Linked DNA regions of Homo sapiens: region 1 is linked to region 2. The links are contacts of gene promoters, found by promoter capture Hi-C in blood cells and fetal thymus (Javierre and others, 2016). All regions are on one chromosome and are shown on one strand. The core of a region is centred on a gene start or on the middle of the fragment in contact, and the rest is flanking DNA. Distances in the headings are between cores, read along the strand shown.

What was found. The method cuts DNA at HindIII sites, captures the fragments that hold promoters and counts their contacts. A CHiCAGO score of 5 or more calls a contact.
Region 1: a contact is called between a fragment that was not itself captured here and the fragment with the promoter of MAPKBP1 in region 2, in 1 of 17 cell types (neutrophils). The highest score is 6.9, in neutrophils.

The regions. Positions count from the first base shown.
Region 1 is chr15:40,904,997-40,910,869 of GRCh38, reverse strand. LOC105370943 (a long non-coding RNA gene) reads right to left here and starts at 4,061. Exons shown (of 2, transcript NR_135836.1): 1 at 3,985-4,061; 2 at 1,519-2,041. RefSeq lists enhancers at 3,086-3,215, 4,405-4,699 and silencers at 3,426-3,485, 4,136-4,475, 4,405-4,699. The HindIII fragment of the contact is 2,272 bases long and covers 2,706-4,977 here.
Region 2 is chr15:41,773,205-41,778,626 of GRCh38, reverse strand. MAPKBP1 (mitogen-activated protein kinase binding protein 1) reads right to left here and starts at 4,143. Exons shown (of 31, transcript NM_014994.3): 1 at 4,017-4,143; 2 at 3,238-3,460. The coding sequence starts at 3,351. RefSeq lists an enhancer at 4,647-4,696. The HindIII fragment of the contact is 7,491 bases long and covers 738-5,422 here.

The DNA.
Region 1 (5,873 bases), core at 2,592-5,091, 870 kb after region 2:
AGCTTGTAAGTGACATAGCAGAAATTCCAGATCAAAAACTCTTTCCACCAAGGCGGGTAGGAGATGAGCTAGCTGGTGAAACTCTGAGCCCCTCAGATGGTGGGGAAACTGAGTCCCTTAGGTGTTAAGGGGACTTTCCCAGGCTTCTGGTGTTAGTCAAAGAGATTGCCGGGAACAGAACCCATCTGTTCTAGCCCTAACCACTAGACCACACGGCTTCTCCATGGCTTCAGCTGGGAAGGTCCAAAGAGAAACTCCCTTTCTAGCCCCAGTGTGGAGTGTAGACTCTTCCCCAGCTAACACGGTTATCCCTGCGGAGGCCAGGCTGGGCCAGGGTGCAGTGGGGGATGCTGGGGGGTTTCTGCCCACACATATGGTTTCCAGATTCCAGGGGATGAAAAGGAGGCCCTTAGGGGCGGAAATGGGGGATGTGTGATGACAAATTTAGACTGATTGCTTAAAAAAAAAAAAAGAAGCCAAGAAACCCTATAAAATAAAAGCAGAAATTCCACTAGAAAACCAGAGGGAGTTATTTGATTGTGAAACTGAGTGCCACGAGGCGTGCATAGTTTAATGTGGAACAATATCTAGGGTTCTTCCAACTTTGACTGTTCAGAGGATGCCGGGGAGGGAAGGAGGCTCTGTCTGCTGTTCCTGCTTCACCTGCTGGGGCCTGGGACAGGGAGCTAGTCGGGAAGGACACCTGGGAGGATGTCTGGAGTCGGGGCACTTGCAAGCGTCCTGCCGGCTGTGGCCAAGGATCCACACTGGCTCACATGGAGAGCGGCCCAGTGGAGGCTCCAGCTGGTCCGCACTGAGAGCATGGGGAAGGATGAGCTGGAAGCTGGGGGTTTGGGGTATCTCTGAGTTCCAGCCTTAGAGGGAAAGACCAGGAACAAAAGGTAAAAGAGAGAACATCTGCCTGGTATTCTGGTCGGCAGCAGGCCCAAGGGGTCAAAGGTCAAGGGGAGGACAAGGGGGACTTCCTGAAGCTCCCGGGAGAGTGCCAGCCAGGCCGACTGTTGTGCAAGTTCTGGGCTGGCCTGCGAGGGCAGGCTGGCAGAGGAGTCATGCCTGATCAGCGGCCAGCATGGTGTCTGCCCAGCCCTCTTGGCCTGTCCTATGAGACTCCTGGAGCTGGAGTAGTGCCCTGTCTCCTTTCCTTCAGGGAACCAGGACCCCCATCCCAAGGAAGCACTCTTGTCCCACCTGTGGCCATATTCTACATGCCTGTGGGCTTCCTCTCATTCTCATCCTGAACCTCTTTTCCTTAGAATCGCCATTGTTCAAGAAACCAGAAAAACCTACTCAAGCAAGCTTCTTTCTTCCAATTCCACTCTGATATCTGAAGAAGTCAGAGGGCCTTGTGAGGGATGAGCTGGGACAGGTCTCAGGGTCCTACGCCTACAGAAAGGAGGTGCAGAGTAAAAGGGAAGAGGGGCAAGTGCCCAGGGCTGCTTGGGCGCCAGGCCCTGGGCTACCTTGACAGATGGGCGGCACCGCTCTCATTTCAGCCTCACAAGAGCCTTTCCAGGTCTGTAACAGTTATTCACATTTTACAGGAGAAGAAATTGAGTTTCCAAGGGCTTGATTAGCCTGATGCTGGTAATGGCAGAGCAGAGACTTGCACTTGCTCTTTACAGATTATGTCCTTGTTCCTCGGTTCAACCCATTTTGGCTGGAGATGGAAAATGAGTATAAAGAAGGACCTAGGATGGTGCCCTGCTCACGACCAGCATGGGAACACAGTTAATCAAGGCTGAATCTCACGGACAGGGGCAGGATCCAGGATGGAGCCTCCTGTTAGCTACCAATTTGTCTTCTGCAATTCAGCAGCTGTAAAGTCAGGAGGTGGGATCAGCAGCACAATGTCTTTCAAACTCGGTTCCTGGGCATCCTGGCATCTTATGGATATCGTGATAGGGGGCCGGGCACAGTGGCTCATGCCTGTAATCCGGACACCCTAGGAGGCTGAGGTGGGAGGACTGCTTGAAGTCAGGAGTTCAAGACCAGCCTTGGCAACCTAGCAAGACCCCCGTCACTACAAAAAATAGAAATAAAAATTAGCCAGGTGTGGTGTCTGTAGTCCTTGCTACTCAGGAGCCTGGGGTGGGAGGATCACTTGAGATCAGGAATTAAAGGCTGCAGTGAGCTATGATGGCGCCACTGCACTCCAGCCTAGGCAATAGAACAAGGTGTTGTTTCTATTAAAAAAAAAAAAAAAAAACAGAGAGAGAGACATTGAGATAGGAGTGGAGAACAGGCTGAGTGAACAGGAGTGTGGGTCCCTCCAGCCCAGTTTCCATCGGAGAATCTCAGCATACCAATTTCAAGTACTGGACATTCATGAATGTTTTTATTTGAACAAGGCTTCCACAGCACTTTATAGTCTCTATCTGAGGTCTCTGCAGCTCTGGCCTGCTGGGAGTTGTGAACGGTTTAGGTCCTGGCCTGGGAAGAGAAACCAGAGGACCTGGTAAAGGAAGTAGGGTTCACCTTCTAGCCCTGTGGAGATGCCGCGAGGGAACAGGTCAAGGGTCAGAGCTGGGAGATCATGCCATGGAGGGAAGGTGAGCTGCAGCCACCTGCCTCTGCACCTGGCAAACACAAACAGACCTTTGGCCACAGCAGCCTGGGAACCAGAAGCAGCAGCCACCTTCCGGGGGGCCAGACCAGTGCCCCTTTCCCTTTTCTCTGCCCAAGCTTATTCTCAGTGGACATGGGTTGCTGGCCACCAAACTAAGGCCGCGCAGCCTCTCCTGACCTCACGGTATGGTTTCTGACTGCTCAGTAAGGGCTGGTTCAAGGTGAAAGCTGAGCCACGGTAAAGCTGCTCAGGGAGAGGAAAGCACCCAATTACTGGGCATTCAGAGAGTGGGGCCAATCCCCTTGAAATGACAACCCTATTTTGTGACCCTTTTATTGGCCATCCTGGACCAAAGTTTGCCCCTCTGCCTCAGTTTTCCTTTTGGGAATCCAGGCATGAGAATGGTGGCCCTCTCCTGGTGGCTTCAGCACGTATGGCTCCCTGAATATCATCTCCATGCTCCAGGTGGAGGAGAAAGCTGAGGGCTCCAGCTGCCCAAGCACCAGAACTTTCTAGCATCCTCCTATCCCAGTGCCCGCCCCAGGCCTGCCTCTGACCACCATTCACCCTCAACCTGCTGCAGGGCCCAGCCTCACCCCACATAAGCAAAGCTGCCAGCAGCGTCCTTTGTGGTGCTGCTCCCGTGTGGCACTGCCTAGGGGCCCCACCATGGGGCAACAGATGGACCTATGGTCTCTCCAGAACAATGGTGGGGGAGGGGCCCTGGCATCGCCCGCCCCAAACAGGAAGCGCTGCATGAGCTTCAAAGGGCTGGCAGGGCCAAGGGGCTGAGTGGGGGAGCCAGTGCCAGGACTGGCGGCTGCCTGAAGAGATGCCTGCCAGCCTCGGGATGCCCAGCCTGGTGGTGGAGGTGGGGCTGTGGTGGCCAGGGCAGCTGGCTCTTGAGCAGAAGATGTCTGGCACCCTGAGGACAGCAGCCTGTAACCTGGGAGCAGGTTAAGGAAAGAGGGCATGGAGTTTGCTGTTTCCCGGTTCAACTGCCACTCGCCAGCGGGGCTGCAGGTTCTTTCCCAGGCCGCGGTTGGCCTGGCCCTCCGGCAAGTAAGCATGAGGGGCAGGGCTGGCACCAAGCCCGCCGCCCACTCCCTGCCTCCTGCTCCCAGCTGCTCCGCTCAGAGCCTTTTCCTCTCCACTTCCTGTTCACACAGGGGGGGGCGGGAAGTGGAGGGAGGAAGTTGGGGGGAGGCGTGTAGGGGGGACCCATTGAATAAAAGGAATTAACCGTTTCCCTCCTCTGACCTCTGGGAATTTCCGCCTGTGAAAGTGTCTCGAAGAATCAGTAGGGCTGGGGGAGTGGAGGGGAACTGCGCCCCCTCTTGGTCCCCTTCCCCCACCCGGTGGCGGTGGGGCCAGATAACTCCCTCTGGGCCCCTAACCTTTGTTTCCCTGGCGCCAGGGGGCAGCGCCAAGTGCGGCCTGGAGCCTGATGGCCTCGAGCCCCCTCCCAACCTTTGGGGTGGGTGCCAGGCACCAGCCTGCGACCCGAGCCTTTGGGGGAGGGGCAGGAACTAGAACTGGTGGTCTCGGGGGAATGAGCTCACATCCGAGCTGGCCACGCTGAGCCCTGTGCCCTCTCCAGGGCTGGTGCCCTTGGCCAGTCGGCCGCGGTGACAGGAGAAGGGAGGGAGAGGCCGGGCAGGCAGGGCCTGGGACTCTGGGCCGGCACACCCTCCGGCGGCCACACCCCCAGGAGCCAGGGTAGGGAGCGGTGGGCTCGGGAAGCCGGTAGACGGCGCCCCCTAGTGCCCACTGCAGACTCGGCGGGGCGGCCCCCAGGGCCCTCTCCAGGGCGGGCCTCAGGAAGCACCTGCTCCCCAGGACCAGTGGCCGCCCTGCGTCTCCCCCAGGTGGCTTCCTTGTTTACAGGCCTCCTGCCCTGGTCCCAGCGTCACTGCCTGTGGCCACTCCTTCTATTTCCAGTGACCGCTCCAGGAGTAGCTCATTCATCTTGGCCCCTGCCCACGCAGCTGCTCCCCCACCCCACCCCCCTCTGGCCCTCCAGGCTTAGGGCCAAAGCCCTGAGGGCCTCCGCTCTGCTCTCCATTCCATGTCTTGCTTGGCTTCCAGGGATCTAAGAGCTGTGGCTTCCCGTTGCCCTGACTCACCGGAACCCTATTCTGTCCCTGCCAGGGAAGCCTGGGGCCTTTTCCCAGGAAAGAGGAAGCAGCCTAGGACCAGATGGGCTGGCTTAGGAGAAGACAGAAGGGGCAGGGGTGTCCCAAGCTGCTTTAGCCAAGCCCTCTGGGAGCAGGGAGCAATAGGGCAGTGTTTGTTTAACTAACAAGTATTAGGCACCCATTATGTGCAAAGACAGAGGCCCCAGTCTGTTTTCTCTAAGAAAGTGACCCCTTCAGAGGTAGGCTAAAGCTTTATACTCACTGTCAGGGGACAAAGACCCTGAGCCCTCAGATGACTATGGTAGGTGTAAGGGGAGCCTAGGCCACATGGGGAGAAGGAAGCAGGAGCCCTCCAAACCTCCTGGGACAGTGCGAAGAACAGAATTAGGATGCCCTCTACTCAATGGGACCCCTCCCCCACATCTGCTCCCACTTCTGCTTCTGGAGGAAGACGGGAGTCTGAGGGGTCATCAAAAATGGGCAGCTTCCAGCCCTCTCAGCTAACAGAGTCCATGAAGAGATCCTCTTGTTTTAGTGGTTAGGGAATTCTGCAGCAAAGTTCAACCTGTATTGCCAGAGATAAAATTCTTTAAAAAAAAAAGGCGGAGGGGTTCTAGCTGGGCACAGTGGCTCATGCCTGTAATCCTAGCACTTTGGGAGGCTGAGGCAGGCGGATCACTTGAGGTCAGGAGTTCGAGACCAGCCTGGCCAACATGGTGAAACCCCGTCTCTACTAAAAATAAAAAAAGTAGCCAGGCGTGGTGATGTGCACCTGTAATCCCAGCTGCTAGGGAGGCTGCGGCAGGAGAATCCTTGAACCCGGAAGGCGGAGGTTGCAGTGAGCCAAGATTGTACCACTGCACTCCAGCCTGGTGACAGAGCAAGACGCCATCTCAAAAAAAAAAAAGAGGGTTCTTGCTCTGTCACCCAGGTGAAGTGCAGTGGCACAATCATAATTCACTGCAGCTTCCATCTCTTGGGCTCAAGCCATCCTCCTTCCTCAGACTCCCAAGTAGCTAAGACTACAAGTGTGAGACCCCATGCCTGGCTAGGAAGAGGATTAGACTGGAGGGGAAAGCAGCCTGCAGTGGCCAGCGAGGTTGGCCTGACTGCAGGAACTGTCTTGCCAGCTGACAGATCACACCCAG
Region 2 (5,422 bases), core at 2,894-5,393:
ACTGATAACTTCAAGTCACACTTCACCAAGACTAAGCTGATTTAGCATAAAACTTTAAATCAGTCTTTTCCAATGTACTCCACTGAAGAGACTCCCCTCCCTCTGAAAAAGCTTAATAAAAATCTCAGCACTCATCTACTCTTTGATGTAACTTAAATCTCCACCTCCACTGGCTCTCTCACACCAGCTTTTAGCCATATTTTTAACTAGGTCTCCCCTGAATTAAGAACCCTTTACTGAGCACTGCTTTCTGCATACGTGGACTTCTTCTCTCTTATGTTCTTCACACCTAATTAGGCTGCATCTCTACTTCTTTGTCACCATTTTATTAATCGTAGTTTTGATCTCTCTTCTAAAGAGGTCATAAATTCCTCCTGATTATTTTATTCACCTGGATGTCCAAGTTTATCCCGCACTATATTTGACATCTTTAAATTAGTCTCATTTATTTTTTTTAGTACTTACTGCCTATCTTACACTGTCCTAAACGGTGTGATGTAAAGGAAATAAAGAGCATGACCCCGATCCTTAGGAAATGAAGACATACATAAAATAACAATAAGATATTGGTTTCAAGGTGGGGGACTAGTCACAGAAAGCCCTGTGGCTCTGATAAATACAGAATTGGACCTAAAAATAAGTGTACAATTTGGTGTAAAGGAGAAGGCTACTTTAGATAGAAAGAACAGTATAATTCAAAGCAGGAGGCCATCTGAAGTAAGAGCTGCATAAAAGCTTTCTGACATTTCCTTCTTTGCCCCCCAAAAGGGGCATGTACCTTTTTGTCTTCAAATTTTATTTGAGAATTAGCTATCCATGAATCACAAATTTCCTGTTATCATGATTACTCACAGCCACCACATGTTAGAGCAACTCACAGAGCTTAATACACTAGAGTAATCACAAGGCAGGCTTTTAGAATAATCTCAGGTAGAGACCTTTTACTAAGGAGTGTGGGGAGTCTGGCATCTCTAGGGTCCTGGGCGCACAAAGACAGCTACTCCTCTTGGGTGCTAAAGATATGCACCAGTCATTTTGCTGCCAGACCATTCAAGGGTCATTCAACTTCAGCTAAGTATTTCTTTCATACACAGCTTCAGGACAGACAAAGCCATCTAAAGCAGTCTGAAGCACTGAATTCCTATTTTAAACAGGGAATGGTAAATGGTCTTGCCAGGGATGCCCCTTTTCCACTGTTTTCCTGGAGAGCTCTTCTCCACCTGCCTTAGGACTCACAGTTCAAGCATCCCTTCCTCTGTGAAGCCTTTCCTTTTTTTTTTTTTTTTGAGACGGAGTCTTGCTCTGTTACCCAGGCTAGAGTGCACTGGCAGGATCTGAGCTCACTGCAACCTCAGCCTCCCGGGTTCAGGCGAGTCTCCTGCCTCAGCCTCCCGAGTAGCTGGGATTACAGACATGCACCACCACGCCCGGCTAATTTTTGTATTTTTAGTAGAGATGAGGTTTCACCATCTTGACCAGGCTGGTTTCGAACTCCTGACCTAGTGATCCATCCGCCTTGGCCTCCCAAAGTGCTGGGATTACAGGGGTGAGCCACCATGCCTGGCCTGTGAAGCCTTTCCTAATTCCTCTGAACTGACTTAGGTCGCCTCCCCTGTGCTTCCATTAACAACGTACACATACTTCTACAGCAGCACTTACCACACCGTGTTTTAATTGTTTACATGTCTGACTAGCCATAAGCTCTTTGATGGCAAGGGTAATGTTTTACCCATCACTGATTGCACACTTCATAGGCACTCAATAAACACTTGTTAAATGCATTAATAATGGATGATATTGGAAGTCTTAAAGAATGGCAACTATACTTTCTGGATTCCAGACCAAAATTACAGTAAGAATTAACAATGAAGGCTAAACTCTCATTATATGTTTCTACTACATATATCATTCCTGGCCAGAAAAAGAGGCCAAAGATTGGAGAAGATTGCTCTAACAGTGCTGGTCACTGCCAAGCTACCAGCCAAGAATAAGAGCACTTGCAGTATTAAGAATGAACAGAGTCATATCTAAGGCAATTTCTACATTTCAGGCTTCTTTGCCTGCCTCAGGAGAATAGAAACAATGATGAATAAGAGACCTTGGAAGGGTCACAATGTCCACCATCACAAAACCTTGTAGCAAACTGTGATTCAACACAACTTCTGCTGAAATATACAGGAAAGCTCTTCACCTTCTTACCAAATCTACTCAAAGTTCTGCTAAGGAACACAGGGCTGAACTAAGTCCTCCCAGAACCCTGCCATTTGTACAGTGGCATTCTAAATCATTCCTCATGGGATTTACTCATCACTGAAGAGATACAGGCAAAGCAATACAATGCTGTGGTCTCAAATGCCTCTCCCTGTAACAACCTTGTACCTCACAACCCTATTGGGTTTACAGGCTACTAATAAGACACAAAATCTGATCTGATCCTGTGGGAGTAAAGCCCTGGATTCCCTCAAGGGATTAAATAAATGTCGACTACTTCTGGATTCCCAAAGTTGTGGGGTTTATTTAGTTGAAAAAGCATAAGGACCAAAACACAGACAAGTGAAGCGATGGAAAGGAACTTTGCCTCTGAGGATCATCTGCAGCTGAGTGGGATGTGGCTCTTGGCATATAGTGAATGAGATAAGCAATGCTCAAGGGCCATCCAGAACTGTTTTGCTGACAGATATCTGGCTTCTTGCATGTTATTCCTAAGAAGCCAAAAGGCTCCAGTTAGCCTCTTGAAGAGACAAAAAAAATTTGTTTTCACCGTAGGCAAGAGCAATTACCAAGCCAGTAACTCTGACTAGGTGTTTTAGCATATTTCTTTCTGCCACTACAGTCTTACATAACCCCAGCTGTTACGTTAACACCTGCAGCTACATTAGTCACAGCTTAGCCCTTCACAAGGTATGTGTTCCTACTGTCCTCTCCCAAGAAGGGAAACTGAGTCATAGCATATCAACTGGCTTCCCAAGCACATGCTTAGTGTATAGTGAGGCCACAATTGAACCCAGGTGGTCTTCCTACTATTCACCTTTTCTCATGGATGAATCTCAGCATGCCCACCCCTGCTGCTCTTTTTCCTTCAACCTAAAACCAAATCATTGCCTGCAGAGATCATATGTGATCCTTTAGAGTCAACAAGGGCTTCTAGTTATCTTTCCCAAGAAACAGGAAGGTTAACGAGGAACATGGAGCAGGAGAGGGTGGGTTTGGAAAGAGGTGGATCCCAACAGGACTCACCTTGGAGCTGAGGTCCTCTCGTCGGTTTCCTGCCTTACTCCTGCGCAGTTTGATGGATGGAGATCTCAACAGATTCTTGATCCGGCTGGTAATGGTTGACCCTTCCACAGCCATTATGACGAGAAACCCTTTGGGACAGTCCCCGGCCCAGTCCTGGGTCTTGTCTCAACAGCGGCACTGTCTTCCCACTCCAGAGGGCTTCCCAGTATGCCCTCTCACTGACCTGAGATGGCAGAAGCCACCTTAGTATCACAGTGTCTTACCTTCTGCCTAGCGAAGTCTGCAGCTTTTACCTCTGGGTATTGCTCTCACCATTTCCCTCATCCCCACCTTCTAGCCCTGCACAGTTTCTTACAACGTCGGAAGGAAAGGCTCACGAAAAAGGGGGGGAAAATCCTAAGCCACGAAGAAATGCCAGGCCCACGCCCGCCAGAGGCGTTTAACTGGCGAGATGGATGGGATGGGCCCCAGTTGGTCTCGTGGACGATCTGGTTCCCGTTAATGCCCAACTGTTCCCATGGCAACTGTAGTGTCCAAGGGAGGAGGCCGCCGAGACCACCAGGGATTTCCGCAGGCCTGGACACCTGCGCTAGCGCCGGCGGGGACGCGGCGGGGCTCGCCGTAGCCCACAACTCGTTCTGCCACGGGAGCCTCCCTCCCCCACTCCCTATCCTCCAGAGCTCGCTCTCCGCCCTCCACAGCGGCTCTGGACCTTTATCTTTCACCCGCCTCTGAGGCCCCTGCTACTCGTCAGCGCCCCCGTTCGGGCCCAGCCTCACCAGCCTCGGCGAGCTAAGGCCACCCCGCTCACAGCGCCCTCGGGCATCGCGTTCGGCAATTTCAGCTCCGCCGCGGTAGCCGCAGCGGTAGAGGCAGCAGCAGGAGCTATGGTGGCACGATCGGCTCAAAACGCGAACTACCGCCTGGGCCAAGCCGCGGGCTGGGTGGGCGGAGCCGACGCGAGGGGCGCGGCCTGTAGTCAGGAGAGCGCTTCCAGAGTGGACGAGCAAGGTTTACGGGGGCGGAGCCAATGAAAGGGCCCAGGAAGCAGACGGCTTGGGACTAGGGAACCACGGAATCCGCACAATTGCGGGTACCGCTTTTAGAGGAAGGTCAACAGAACATGGCTTCAGAATTGAGAGAACCAAGCCTTTTATGGTATTATCAGGCCTGGTCCCCCATGGAACTGCACTTCCCAGAGCCCCAAGACGATAACCACGCCTCCAGGGTGTTAAGGTTGTCATCTGATAGGCCCGAGGGACCGTAGCTGAAACTCCTAGCTCAGAATTACAAGACTGAGCTACAGCCTAAAAGCTCTGCTCCCAGCGACCACAAGTGTTGAGATTTAAAGCGACTGAAGTAGTTTCTGCTCGCAGCCAGTCCGGCACGTAGACTCAACGTGGAAAGGATTATTCTGAGTAATGCAATTTAATAGCTAAGAACAGTATTTTTGCACTGGGCAACCTGGTCATCATGAAAGGGGAAAGGGTGGCCTTGAACAGAGCTTTGGGCGTGCGGGGGAAAGAGAAGTGAATATGCTATGTTATAATACTTTAGGTTTCATGGCTTCTTTAGCCTCCAACATCCCATTGTGCTTCCTCACCTAAAGCTGACCAGGACTTTGTTGCTCCAGATCTTTTCCTCATTCCATTTACTTATGAATCCTTTTATCTAGGGCTGTTCCTTGCTGAGGTCACTGTCGAGCTTGCTGATACTAGATCGAGGGGTAGTTTTCTAACTCATGTCGGGGGAGGCAGAGGGAATACACGGAAATGTTACATGAAATAGTATTTCCTGAGTATTCTCCACTTGACTACTACCACAAGAAATCACCTTATGAAAAAGCCTAAGCCAGAGACTTGGGTCCCAAGGGAATAGTACACTGGTGTGTCCGTCTCACCCTATCCAGATCTTTTGAATCCCTGTGGAGATGACATGTGTCTGCAAGAGGGAAGAACCTCTAACAAATTATTATACCTTATGAAAAAGCCTAAGCCAAAGACAAGGGACCCAAGGGAGTACTACACTGGTGTGTCTGTCTCACCCTATCCAGATCTTTTGAAACCCTGTGGAGATGACATGTGATAACAAGAGGGAAGAACCCCTAAACTCATTGCTTGTGTACAACGGTGAGCCTTTAGAGCCAAGTGGCAAAGCACATATTTTCTTGTGTATACTGTAGCCA